Regions from separate parts of the Homo sapiens genome. Here regions 2 and 3 are each linked to region 1. Evidence: promoter capture Hi-C in 16 types of primary human blood cells and fetal thymus (Javierre and others, 2016). All regions are on one chromosome and are shown on one strand. The core of a region is centred on a gene start or on the middle of the fragment in contact, and the rest is flanking DNA. Distances in the headings are between cores, read along the strand shown.

Evidence for each region. The method cuts DNA at HindIII sites, captures the fragments that hold promoters and counts their contacts. A CHiCAGO score of 5 or more calls a contact.
Region 2: a fragment that was not itself captured here is called in contact with the fragment with the promoter of CEP78 in region 1 in 1 of 17 cell types (non-activated CD4 T cells); the score reaches 5.0 in non-activated CD4 T cells.
Region 3: a fragment that was not itself captured here is called in contact with the fragment with the promoter of CEP78 in region 1 in 1 of 17 cell types (naive CD4 T cells); the score reaches 5.2 in naive CD4 T cells.

Annotation. Positions count from the first base shown.
Region 1 is chr9:78,233,993-78,237,643 of GRCh38, forward strand. CEP78 (centrosomal protein 78) reads left to right here and starts at 2,083. Exons shown (of 17, transcript NM_001330691.3): 1 at 2,083-2,611. The coding sequence starts at 2,359. RefSeq lists an enhancer at 1,812-2,481 and a silencer at 2,107-2,476. The HindIII fragment of the contact is 10,697 bases long and covers 1-3,651 here.
Region 2 is chr9:77,982,308-77,985,958 of GRCh38, forward strand. All of the region lies in intron 1 of GNAQ (G protein subunit alpha q), which reads right to left. Among named protein-coding and RNA genes, the nearest start is that of GNAQ, 48 kb to the right of the region's middle. The HindIII fragment of the contact is 2,924 bases long and covers 290-3,213 here.
Region 3 is chr9:78,003,317-78,006,967 of GRCh38, forward strand. The region is part of intron 1 of GNAQ (G protein subunit alpha q); the gene reads right to left. Among named protein-coding and RNA genes, the nearest start is that of GNAQ, 27 kb to the right of the region's middle. The HindIII fragment of the contact is 1,386 bases long and covers 1,235-2,620 here.

The DNA of each region.
Region 1 (3,651 bases), core at 833-3,332:
GAAAAGACCCAGACAGCAACAATAGGACATCAGAAAGTTCAAGCAGTTCTGTGTATCTAGAGAAGACATGCCAGGAAGAATGTAGCAAGGAGAGAGACAACAGAGATAGTCAAATTATGAAGGAGCTTGTATGTCAAGCTACGTGACATAGATCTGACACTGAGGGCAGTGAGAAATCTTGGCTTTCTAGGGGGCAATTTAATGGATGAAGAGATCTATCTGTGTTAGAAGTAATCTGCCTAGAGTGGGGAAGTTAAGGCTGAGCAGAAGACAAGAACACCCAGAGAAACTGTAAAATGTCAGAAGGGGTGAAAGCTGAGGGTAGAAACCTGACGAACAGCAATATTTAGAGTGGATATGCAAGAGAAGCCAAAGAATGAGACTGAGAAGAAGAAATTCGAGAGGTAAAGAAAAAGAAATCAGGTGGCTTCATGGGAAACAGGGAGGAGGGAGCTTTAAAAAGGTAATGGACACTACATTAATTGATGCTGGAGACTAGAAAGAAAATGGATAGAGCAACAAAGAAATCGTAAAGTTGGAAACAATTTAAATTACCATCAACAGAAAAACAGACACATTACTGTATGTTTCTACATGGAACTCCCATATAACAACAGGGAAAATAAATGAATATCTCTATATGTCAACACGGATGGACCTAGTAAAGGTAACGATAAGTAAAGTAGGAAAAGAAAATATAGAATGTTATATACTGCTTACTTACATATGTAGCAGAAATATAAAGACATACATTGCAACGATGAATACCAAGTTCAGAAGAGCAGTTATCTCAGAGTCAGAGAGTAGTCGTGATTGGGAAGGTGGTTACACAAAGCTCTTCAACAGGAATGGTAATGTTTCATTTATTAAGCTGGTTTATGAATATACAAGCGTTTACTATATTAAGATTTGAGCATGTCGCACATAAAAATAATTGGTGACCATATCTCCGGAATTTTAGAGACGCCTGCATATGTGTGTTGGAAGTAAGTTGGAGTATCCGGAATGCAGTGGGTGGAACAGGAATGCAATAAACACAATGTCTAAGGCTCTACCGGAGGACTATCATTGCTCTAGCAATTGCATACCAATAGAAGGAGAGGTCAATTATCTGGATTCTTCCACTTAGCTTCCACTTAACTTCCCCGTTCCTCAGTTTCCCCTTTTGTAAAGTAGAATATAATAGTATATTCCTTGAGATGTTAGGAGAATGAAATGATTTCATACTTAAACATTGCTTAAAATAATCCCGAGGACATTATTTCAAATAAGTACTAGTTACAAGGGAGTTAGCCAACATCATCGTCAGTACAAAACAAACTGATTCACAGCAAACACAATAAAGTCCTGAATTCATGAAACACTCTTCAATTTGCCAGGAACCGTGTGAGATATGCAGAAACTACAGAAATTAAGGCTTATTTGTAGATATTAACACAGACATAAAAGATTTAATGACCGCAGTTCACGTTCAATCAGCCGTTCCCACATCCCTTGAGTGCAGTCTCTGTGCTGGCTGGACACTGCAAGCACAGACACATTCCTCAGATGTTTAGACTTTTTTTAAAAGTGCGTTGTTACATCCACATTTCACTTTTTATTTTCTTTCTTTTTTTGAGACGGAGTTTCGCTCTTGTCGCCCAGGCTGGAGTGCAATGGCAAGATCTCGGCTCACTGCAGCCTCCGCCTCCCGGGTTCTAGCGATTTTCCTTCCTCAGCTGGGATTACAGGCGAGTAGCTGGGATTACAGGCGCCCGCCACCATGCCCGGCTAATGTTTGTATTTTTAATTGAGACGGGGTTTCGCCATGTTGGCCAGGCTGGTCTCGAACTCCTGACCCCAGGTGATCCGCTCGCCCCCGCCTCACACAGTGCTGGGATTACAGGCGTGGGCCACCGCGCCCGACCACACATTTCACTTTTATTCGGATCGATCAGTAAACTCTTTCGCAAACCCTCAAACTCTCCCGACCACTATCTCAGGTAGCAGCGAACTCACCCGTCCTCAGGAGGCGGGACCTGCGTGCCGACGCACAGCGAGCACGTTGACGTCTTGGCGCACCGTTCCACGGCACCGCCCACCGGCTTGAATCCCGGCGCCTCAGAGGACTATGAGGCGGGCGCCAACTGCTTGGGCCGCAGGGCGGGAGGCAGCGCGGGAGTGGGGCGTTGAGGGGCCGGCCTAGCTTGGGGCTCTGGCCTTGCGTCTTCCGACCGAATCACCGCTCCTGAGCCCGGTGCGGGGCTGCCGCTATCGCCTGGCCGTGGGTGCCGGAGCGGCCGGGTTGCGACTCAGCGTTCTTGGGTGGGCGCGGGCGGCGTCTCCGCGGCGGGCATCCCCCGAGGCCGCCCTCGGGCCATGATCGACTCCGTGAAGCTGCGCCGCGACAGCGCGGCGGACTTCTTCTCCCACTACGAGTACCTGTGCGCGCTGCAGAACTCGGTGCCGCTGCCCGCCGTGCGCGCCTGTCTCCGGGAGGGCGTGCTGGATTTCAACGCCGACCGCCTCCGCGGGGTGGACTGGGCGCCTCTGCTGAGCACCCTCAAGATCAATAAAGACCTGCCCTTGGTCTCCATCAAGAGCTTCTTCCAGCCCTGGCTGGGGGACACAGGTTTGTAGTTCCCGCCTCCAGGGCCCCTCAGTCGGTGCGGCGAAGTGGGTTTTTAGGTGAGTGGTGTCCATTGTCGGGGTATGTGTGCAATAGAAGGGGTGTGCGGCCTGGACACTCACGAGCTAGGTGAGTGGCTTAAGGTCTCTAGGGCTTCAGTGTGCTCATCCGTAACATGGGCTTAATAACGAGACCCAGGTTATGTGCGCCTTCGCAAGGATTCCCTGCGCTGCTGATGCCTGCAGAGCTCTTAGCACAGTTTGGGACATCATTAAACATTTGACAGATGTTACCTATTTTATTGAATGACTTTGATTTGCCTGATAGAGAACTAAGCAGGTAGGAAATTAATACATGTCAGCCTTTGTCTTTTTTTTTTTTTTTTTTTTTTTTTTTTTGAGACACTGTTTCACTCTGTCGCCCAGGCTGGAATGCAGTGGCAAGATCTCGGCTCACTGCAACCTCCGCCTCCCGGGTTCAAGTGATTCTCCTGCCTCAACCTCCCGAGTAGCTGGGATTACAGGCGCGCGCCACCATGCCCGGCTAATTTTTGTATTTTTAGTAGAGATGGGGTTTCACCATGTTAGCCAGGCTGGTCTCGAACTCCTGACCTCAGGTGATCCGCCCGCTTCGGCCTTCCAAAGTGCTGGGATTACAGGCATGAGCCACCGCGCCCGGCCTGTCTTCATTTTTTAAGGTGTATATAAGAAGTTTGTAAAGTGCTTTACAAATACAAGCCATTTGTAAATGTATAGTGGTATAATTAGGGATCCAGACTCTCTGATTATTCGGAAAATATGTTAGGTCAACTATGATATATGACAAAATGCTGTTATTCCTTTGAGCACTTAGCATTTTCTACATAATGGAGGCAGCTTCCTATAGACGCTAGCTAGGTAACAGGAAGGAACAGTTTGTGCAAAAGTTTTGGAAATAGGAGAGAGTATGCAAGCTGAGTTACAGGACTGGAATTTAGGTTTGAGAAAGAGCAGAGAGAGTTGAGGCTGGAAACCTTGTGGGGGCCAAACAGGGAGGGTCCTCGT
Region 2 (3,651 bases), core at 502-3,001, 250 kb before region 1:
ATTAGAGAAACACTTGACCACTGATGTTGGCGAAGTAAAACAAAAATTTTTTTAATTGAATCCTCTTACTTAAGAATGGCAAGTTAAAGATCAGTCAATTATGGGAATAATGTTATAGGCTTCTGAAACCTCACAGAAATTTTCCACATGGAGAATCTCTTCTACACCTTTTCATGGGGTTATGAGAGAGACATATGACATGGGGGACGGGGAGACCACCATTCTATCTTAGAAGTATGATACAAACAAACATTAGCCTATTCTGAGAAGTAATGTGAACTCCCTGAAAAGCTTTTTCAGAAGTATTTACAGCACCTGAACATTTCAGGGGAATAAAAATGCCATCAAATATTCATTGCACAGTAGTGAAAGATGCATTCTCATTAATGAATCCTCTACCTGTATCGAACTGTTGATTCTATGTTTAAAAAAAAAAAAAAAAAAGTCAAAACCACAGGAAGGGGAACATCACACACCAGGGCCTGTCGTGGAGTGGGGAGAGGGGGGAGGGATAGTAATGGGAGATATACCTAATGTAAATGACGAGTTAATGGGTGCGGCACACACCAACATGGCACATGTATACATATGTAACAAAAATGCACGTTGTGCACATGTACACTAGAACTTAAAGTATAATAATAAAAAAATAAAAAAGTCAAAACCAGTATTAACAAGATAAAAACTTTTTTAGAAGAACCATAACAGAGAAAATACCTACATGGGTCTCTAACTGGCCCCTATATAATGTACCAATGCTTGAATTCATCAATTATTTACACTACCCAGAATTCTGCTGTACTGGGGTAGAAAGGGCTGAAGTAACTGTGGAAACACTGCCTACATAGAAACTGGCACTTTGTTTCTCACTTGCCAGCTAGTTCTATGCAACAGTATGAACTCGTGCATGGTGATAACATTTACATAGTATGTATCTGTGGAGTGCTGAGCATCAAAATCATGCTTTCATAGAAAGCAACTGCGTCATTTTAGGTAAGAGGGCTGACCTATTAGTAGCCAACTCTTGCTGCTAAAAATCTTCTAAAGGACTTGTGTGGATGTAGGTGTTTATTCCCTCCCAAATTCCTCCATGGGTAGCCTCAGTACCTCACCAACCTTTTGGTTCTCACCCTGCTGGGAGATGACTCCTCTGGGCCCCTCCCCTCTGGAACTGAGAGGACTGGTATGGCCTTGAGCCTCTTCGAAGAGCCATTTGCCTTATTCCTCATAGTTGGTGTATGTGTCTTTTACTTCTTTCTTTCAAGGTTGGTGTATTCCTTATTCCTCATAGTTGGTGTATGTTGCCTTTTGCCTCTTTCTTTCAAGGTTCCCCTTACTGTGGCACAGGGTTTGGCTGAGCAGCTCATTTTCTGGCATTTTATGGAAACACAGAAAAGTATCTATGCACTTAAAATCAGCATCACTAGCAGATCTAGTCTTGCCTTTGGCATCACCAGCAGGAGAATTTAGTGACTGAAATGACCACTGACTCTATTCCACTCTTTTAGTGGGGAGGACTCTTTCCTAGGAAGTCACGGTCAGAACTTGCTGTATCCTAAAGGAAGTCCACTCCAAGAGACAGGAAGATTTACCGAGATCCTACTGTGTGGGCATTTTGCTCAGAACTGAGGGATACAGAAATAAAAGATCTAACACGTTGTGCTTTTATTCAAAGACTCTCTCTCTCTCCTCAAAAGTCATCCTGGGTTTTTGCAGCATATGCAAGTAGAATTTTGGAGAGCAAAAAAAAAAAAAAAAAAAAAAAAAAATCACCTAGATGAAGTTGGTCATCTAGGCAGGTAGGGCACAAGCAGAAAGTTTTTGAATTTTAGTTGAAGTACGTAGATTTCTGGGATTTTTTTGCTTTTCTTTTTTTTTTTTTGAGACAGGGCCTCACTGTCACCCAGGCTGGAGTGCAGTGGCATGATCTCGGCTCACTGCAGCCTCGACCTCCTGGGCTCAAGTGATCCTCCCACCTTAGCCTCCTGAGTAGCTGAGACTACTGGCATGCACCACCACGTGGCTAATTTTTCGTATTCTTTGTAGAGATGGGGTCTTGCCATGTTGCCCAGGCTGGTCTCGAACTCCTGGACTCAAGCAATTCGGCCTCCCAAAGTGCTGGGATTACAGGCGTGAGCCACCACATCCAGCCTGAAGTACCTGTTTAACTGTGTTTATTCTTAACTGCCTTAGAGTTGATGAAATAGTTAACAAAGTCCTTGGAAAAGATAAGATTCCCAAAAGTATGAATTCGCATAATTTTTGGTTTCTGTAGAACTCTTACAAACAAGTAGCTCCTTATTGTCTTGAAATACCTTTTTAAAACATTCTCTTTTAAAAAATTCCCTTGGTATAACATTATATAACCAAAAACCTGCAGTTTTAAGAGAAGTATACCCAGGGATTCAGTGCAGGTGCTCTAACGCAGGGGTTCATTCCACATTTTGAGAAACTCTGCTTTACAATGCACAGAGCAGAGCCAGAGAGAGAAACTCCCTGATTCACTTATTATAACTGACAAAGGGACCAGGCTCCCGAGTGAAGAATGGAGCAATCCTCCAACATCTATTCAGGTATTTAAGAGGTGAGAGGAGAAAGCAGAGAATTACAAAATCAAAATGGACTACCATTTGAGGATCCTGATACTATGGCAAGGAAATGGCAATTTTATGGCATGGACATACACTAGTTCCCCCTACATGGTTTTCAAAAGAGTTTGTGGGCCAGGCGCGGTGACTCACACCTGTAATCCCAGCACTTTGGGAGGCCAAGGCAGGCAGATCACAAGGTGAGGAGATCGAGACCATCCTGGCTAACATGGTGAAACTCCGTCTCTACTAAAAATACAAAAAATTAGCCAGGCATGGTGGTAGGTGCCTGTAGTCCCAGCTATAGGCTGGGAGGCTGAGGCAGAAGAATGGCATGAACCCAGGAGGCGGAGCTTGCAGTGAGCTGAGATCTCGCCACTGCACTCCAATCTGGGTGACAGAGAGAGACTCCATCTCAGAAAAACCAACCAACAAACAAAAGAGTTTGTAGAGTTTTGTTTTGTTTTGGTTTTCCTTTTACAGAGATCCACATCACATCATATAATGGAGGAGACTGAAGACATTAATTGTGAGCAGTCACTGTTGCAGAAATTCCTACTCCCCAAGTAGAGGATAGTTGTATGTCATTCAAATATTACATACCCTATAAAAGTACAAGGTGTTAAGCTTCACAGCTTAAAACACAGTAACTGATTATGTGTTTTTAGATTAGTATAATTTTTAATTTTTCTATTTTTATTTTTTTTGAGACAGAGTCTCGCTCTGTGGCTCAGGCTGGAGTGCAGTGGCATGATCTCGGCTTACTGCAATCTCTCTGCCTCCCGGGTTCAAGCGATTCTCCTGCCTCAGCCTCCTGAGTAGCTGGGATTACAGGCATGCACCACCACACCCGGCTAATTTTTTGGATTTTTAGTAGAGATGGGGTTTCACTGTGTTGGTCAGGCTGGTCTCAAACTCCTGACCTCAGGTGATCCACCCGCTTCAGCCTCCCAAAGTGCTGGGATTACAGGCATGAGCCACCGCACCTGGCCTAAGTATGATTTTTTAAAACAGCTGTCATTCAAATTTAAATGAACTTTGATCTTCTTGACACAAAGACTTT
Region 3 (3,651 bases), core at 678-3,177, 230 kb before region 1:
CGTATTCTCTATCTTCATCTTAAAAATAAACAGAACCCAGAAGTCCTTGATGGGGTAATTTTTGCTGTCTTCCATAGTATTCTTCTCTCTTGTACCTGTTAGCACTGACCAGTGAGGACAAGGCCACTGATACCTTCAGAGATGACGAACCAGGAAGAAGGCTTTTGTGTTACAGAATCTTTATCTTAGACACTGAGACTAAAAATGACAAGCTGCGGCCGGACACAGTGGCTCACACCTGTAATCCCAGCATTTTGGGAGGCCGAGGCGGGCAGATCATTTGAGACCTGGAGTTCAAGACCAGCCTGGGCAACATGGCGAAACCCCTTGTTTACTAAAAATACAAAAAATAAACTGGGTGTGGTAATGCACGCCTGTAATCCCAGCTACTGGGGAGGCTGAGGCACGAGAATCACTTGAACCGGGGAGGCAGAGGTTGCAGTCAGCCTAGATAGCGTCATTGCACTCCATTCTGGGCTTTAGAGCAAGACTGTCTAAAAAAAAAAAAAAGAAAAAAAAAAGCTGGAGTCCGAACTGCACCATAAACTGCACTTGTAACACTTTGCCAAAGTAGAAAGTACCAACAATCAACTCACTCATTGAGCAAACAAAAAAGCATAATATGCACTAAATGCTATTAGAACACAAGACAAATTACATATCCTGCCTTCAGGGATCTGACAGGTTGCTATGGAGGAACAAATGTGTATAAATCATCACAATTACAAGATGGGGCTGAATTTGCCCTAGCCACCCAAAGCTGACCTCCAACTACAGGTATCTGCACCTCGCTGCCTGAGGACTTTTCTCCAAGGTAGGGATGGCCACCCGAGAAGCCAAAGGTGGCAGGAATTGACAGCCCCCAACTAATGACCATCCAAAGTTGGTATATAAATACTCCAGTTGGCTATGACTGAGCCACTGAACTGCAGCCTGGACGACAGAGTAAGACTCTGTCTCAAAAAAAAAAAAAAAAAATTAATTAAGTTAAATGCTCCAGCTACCTTACTCTTCAGGTGGGACAAATTTACAGCATCACCATTCTCCGAAGTGGGGTCTCTGGACCCATGCCAACAGCATCATTATCACCAGGTGCTCATGAGAAATTCAGACTCTCAGGTCTCACCCCAGACCTGAGTCTGAACCTGCATTTTAACAAGGTCCCCAGGAGATTCTCATGAACATGAAAGTTTGAGAAGTCCTGCGTGACATCATCTCCCAGAGCTTCTCCCCAAGCTTGACCTCCAACTGCCCATTGCCATTAGTGGTTTAATAATGCACCTTTATTGGCTGCCTTCCCTTAGCTATCTCACTTCTCCACTTGCATACCAATACCTCCTGCACATATCAAAAAAACTCAGACATAAACAAACATAAAACGTCATAGGAGTCAACAGAAACTTTGACCACTAGAGGGATCAGAAAAGGCAATGAGAAAGAGGCACCATTTAACATGGGTTTTGAAACACGGTAGGATTTGCACAGAGAGCGATGGAGGAAAAAGCATCCTAGGGGTGGGAGAGAAGAGAGGAAAGCAACAAATATCTGAGGAGGGGAAGGAAAAGGGTTAGTGTCCTCATTTGGCTAAACTGTCAAATACCTCAAGGCAAGCAGTAAGGAATAAGGCTAGAAGAGGGGGTGGGATCAGATAAACTTGACTGACAGATAAACATATCTGGCCTTTATTTCACAATGAATGCAATGTAATTAATGGTTTGGAGAGATGACAAAACTACAATTTTTCTCTTTTTCTGAGACAGGCTCTTGCTCTATCACCCAGGCTGGAGTGCAGTGGGGCAATCATGACTCACTGCAGCCCTCACCTCACGGGCTCAAGCGATCCTCCCACACCCCATGTAGCTGGGACCACAGGTGGGCACCACCACACCCAGCTAATTTTTGTATTATTTGTAGAGATGGTGTTCTTCATGTTGCCCAGGCTGGTCTTGAACTCCTGGGCTCAAGCAATCTGCCCGCCTTGGCCTCCCAAAGTGCTGGGATTATAGGCATGAGCCACTGTACCCACCCAACTGTAATTAACATGGGTTAAGAAAAGTAACCAGAGAGCAATGTGAAAAATGTAGGAAGGGTGGGGAATTAGTGTCTAGAGTGCTCCCCATTGTCTGGGGAAGCGGGAGTTTGCCTTGCCTCATGTGAAGAAGGAGGCCCAATACTAACCAAAGGGTAAATAACTGAGCGTTCTATGTGTGCATAATAATGTCTTACTCACAGTAGTTACCAAAACATATCACGGAAGAAGCAAAATAATAATCACATCAGTGTGCATCTGGATAGTGATCTGTTTTCAAGGAACTTTTACCAACACCATCCCATGTGATCCTCCCAACAAACTTGGTGCAGTAGTGCATGGGTCAAGGTTGCAGTGCCAATACTCTAGCCCAGAGCACTCCACCTTAACCAAGTAGAGGCCTTCAGCAGTTGATGATGGGTATGTGTTAGGCATCCCCACGACTACTCCCCAGGCTCAATGATTCACCTGGAAGACTCGCCCGTCTCAGCATATAGTTGTATCATGGCTACAATGTATTACAAGAAAGCAAAATGCAAAATCGGCCAACGGAAAAGGGTATGGGATGAAGTCTGGAAGAAACTAGACACAAGCTTCCATGGGTCCTCTCCAAGTGGGGTCACATTTAATGCTGCCAACAACCAGTTGTGACAATAAACATGAAATGTCTTAAGTTATTGCACGCAGGCTTACTATGTTAACTCTTTCCTGTACGGGGTCACAAATGGATTCCTGGAACGTGAGTTCTAATAATGCTATTGATTTAAATGCCCTAGCTAATTCCCAGAGGTAAACTGTCATAAATAGGAATTTGAGGGACTTAGTGCAGGTTGGGTATGTGAAATATACATGCAATTTGTTCTAATCTGTCAGTTAATTTCAGAGAATAACACAACATAAAACAAATCCATTATGTGTGTGATAAGAAATATAATTACCTATTTCTATCTGGCTGCAATTATGTCAATAAAAAAGAAGTATACTGCCCCCTGCCCCATAAGATCTCAATTCAGTAGGACTGTCTTCAACTGAGACATAGGATCAACCAAAAACACTGTCTTGTACACACATACCAAAAAATCTTAGAGAAAAATACTCTATCAGGCAATAAGAAGTAAACCTACTGTTGCTTTCCCCACTGTTCTCAGCATATCCCTAATTGGTACTACCAAAAAAAATAAATTATCTGCAATCCCAGGACTAAAACCTTTCCAAGCATCATTCAAACTAGGATAGTGTTTGTTCTTTCATTTCCTTCATTTGATCATGCTTTCAGAAACAATGCTTATCTTAAGGTCTCCTGAAATACGCCTTTTGGAAATTTACTGCAAAGTTATGATGGAAATTGAGTTGTTTTCATATGTGTGTTTAGAACTGTCTAAATGTAACAAAGTCGAGTTTGAGACTTCTAACTCACAAATAGAAGATTTTGCAATGTAATGCACAATTTTCTTAACCTCAGAGATATGGCCTTGGCTTGATGGGGTAAAAGATCACATGAGGTTACTGGATGCATTTCTTGGCCTGTCAGGAGTTCATTTCAGTTCTTTGCTAGTGAGGTTTAGCATTGTGTGTGATGTTAGTCCTCATGAAAATGAGAGATGAGCCAAGTACTCTTTGCA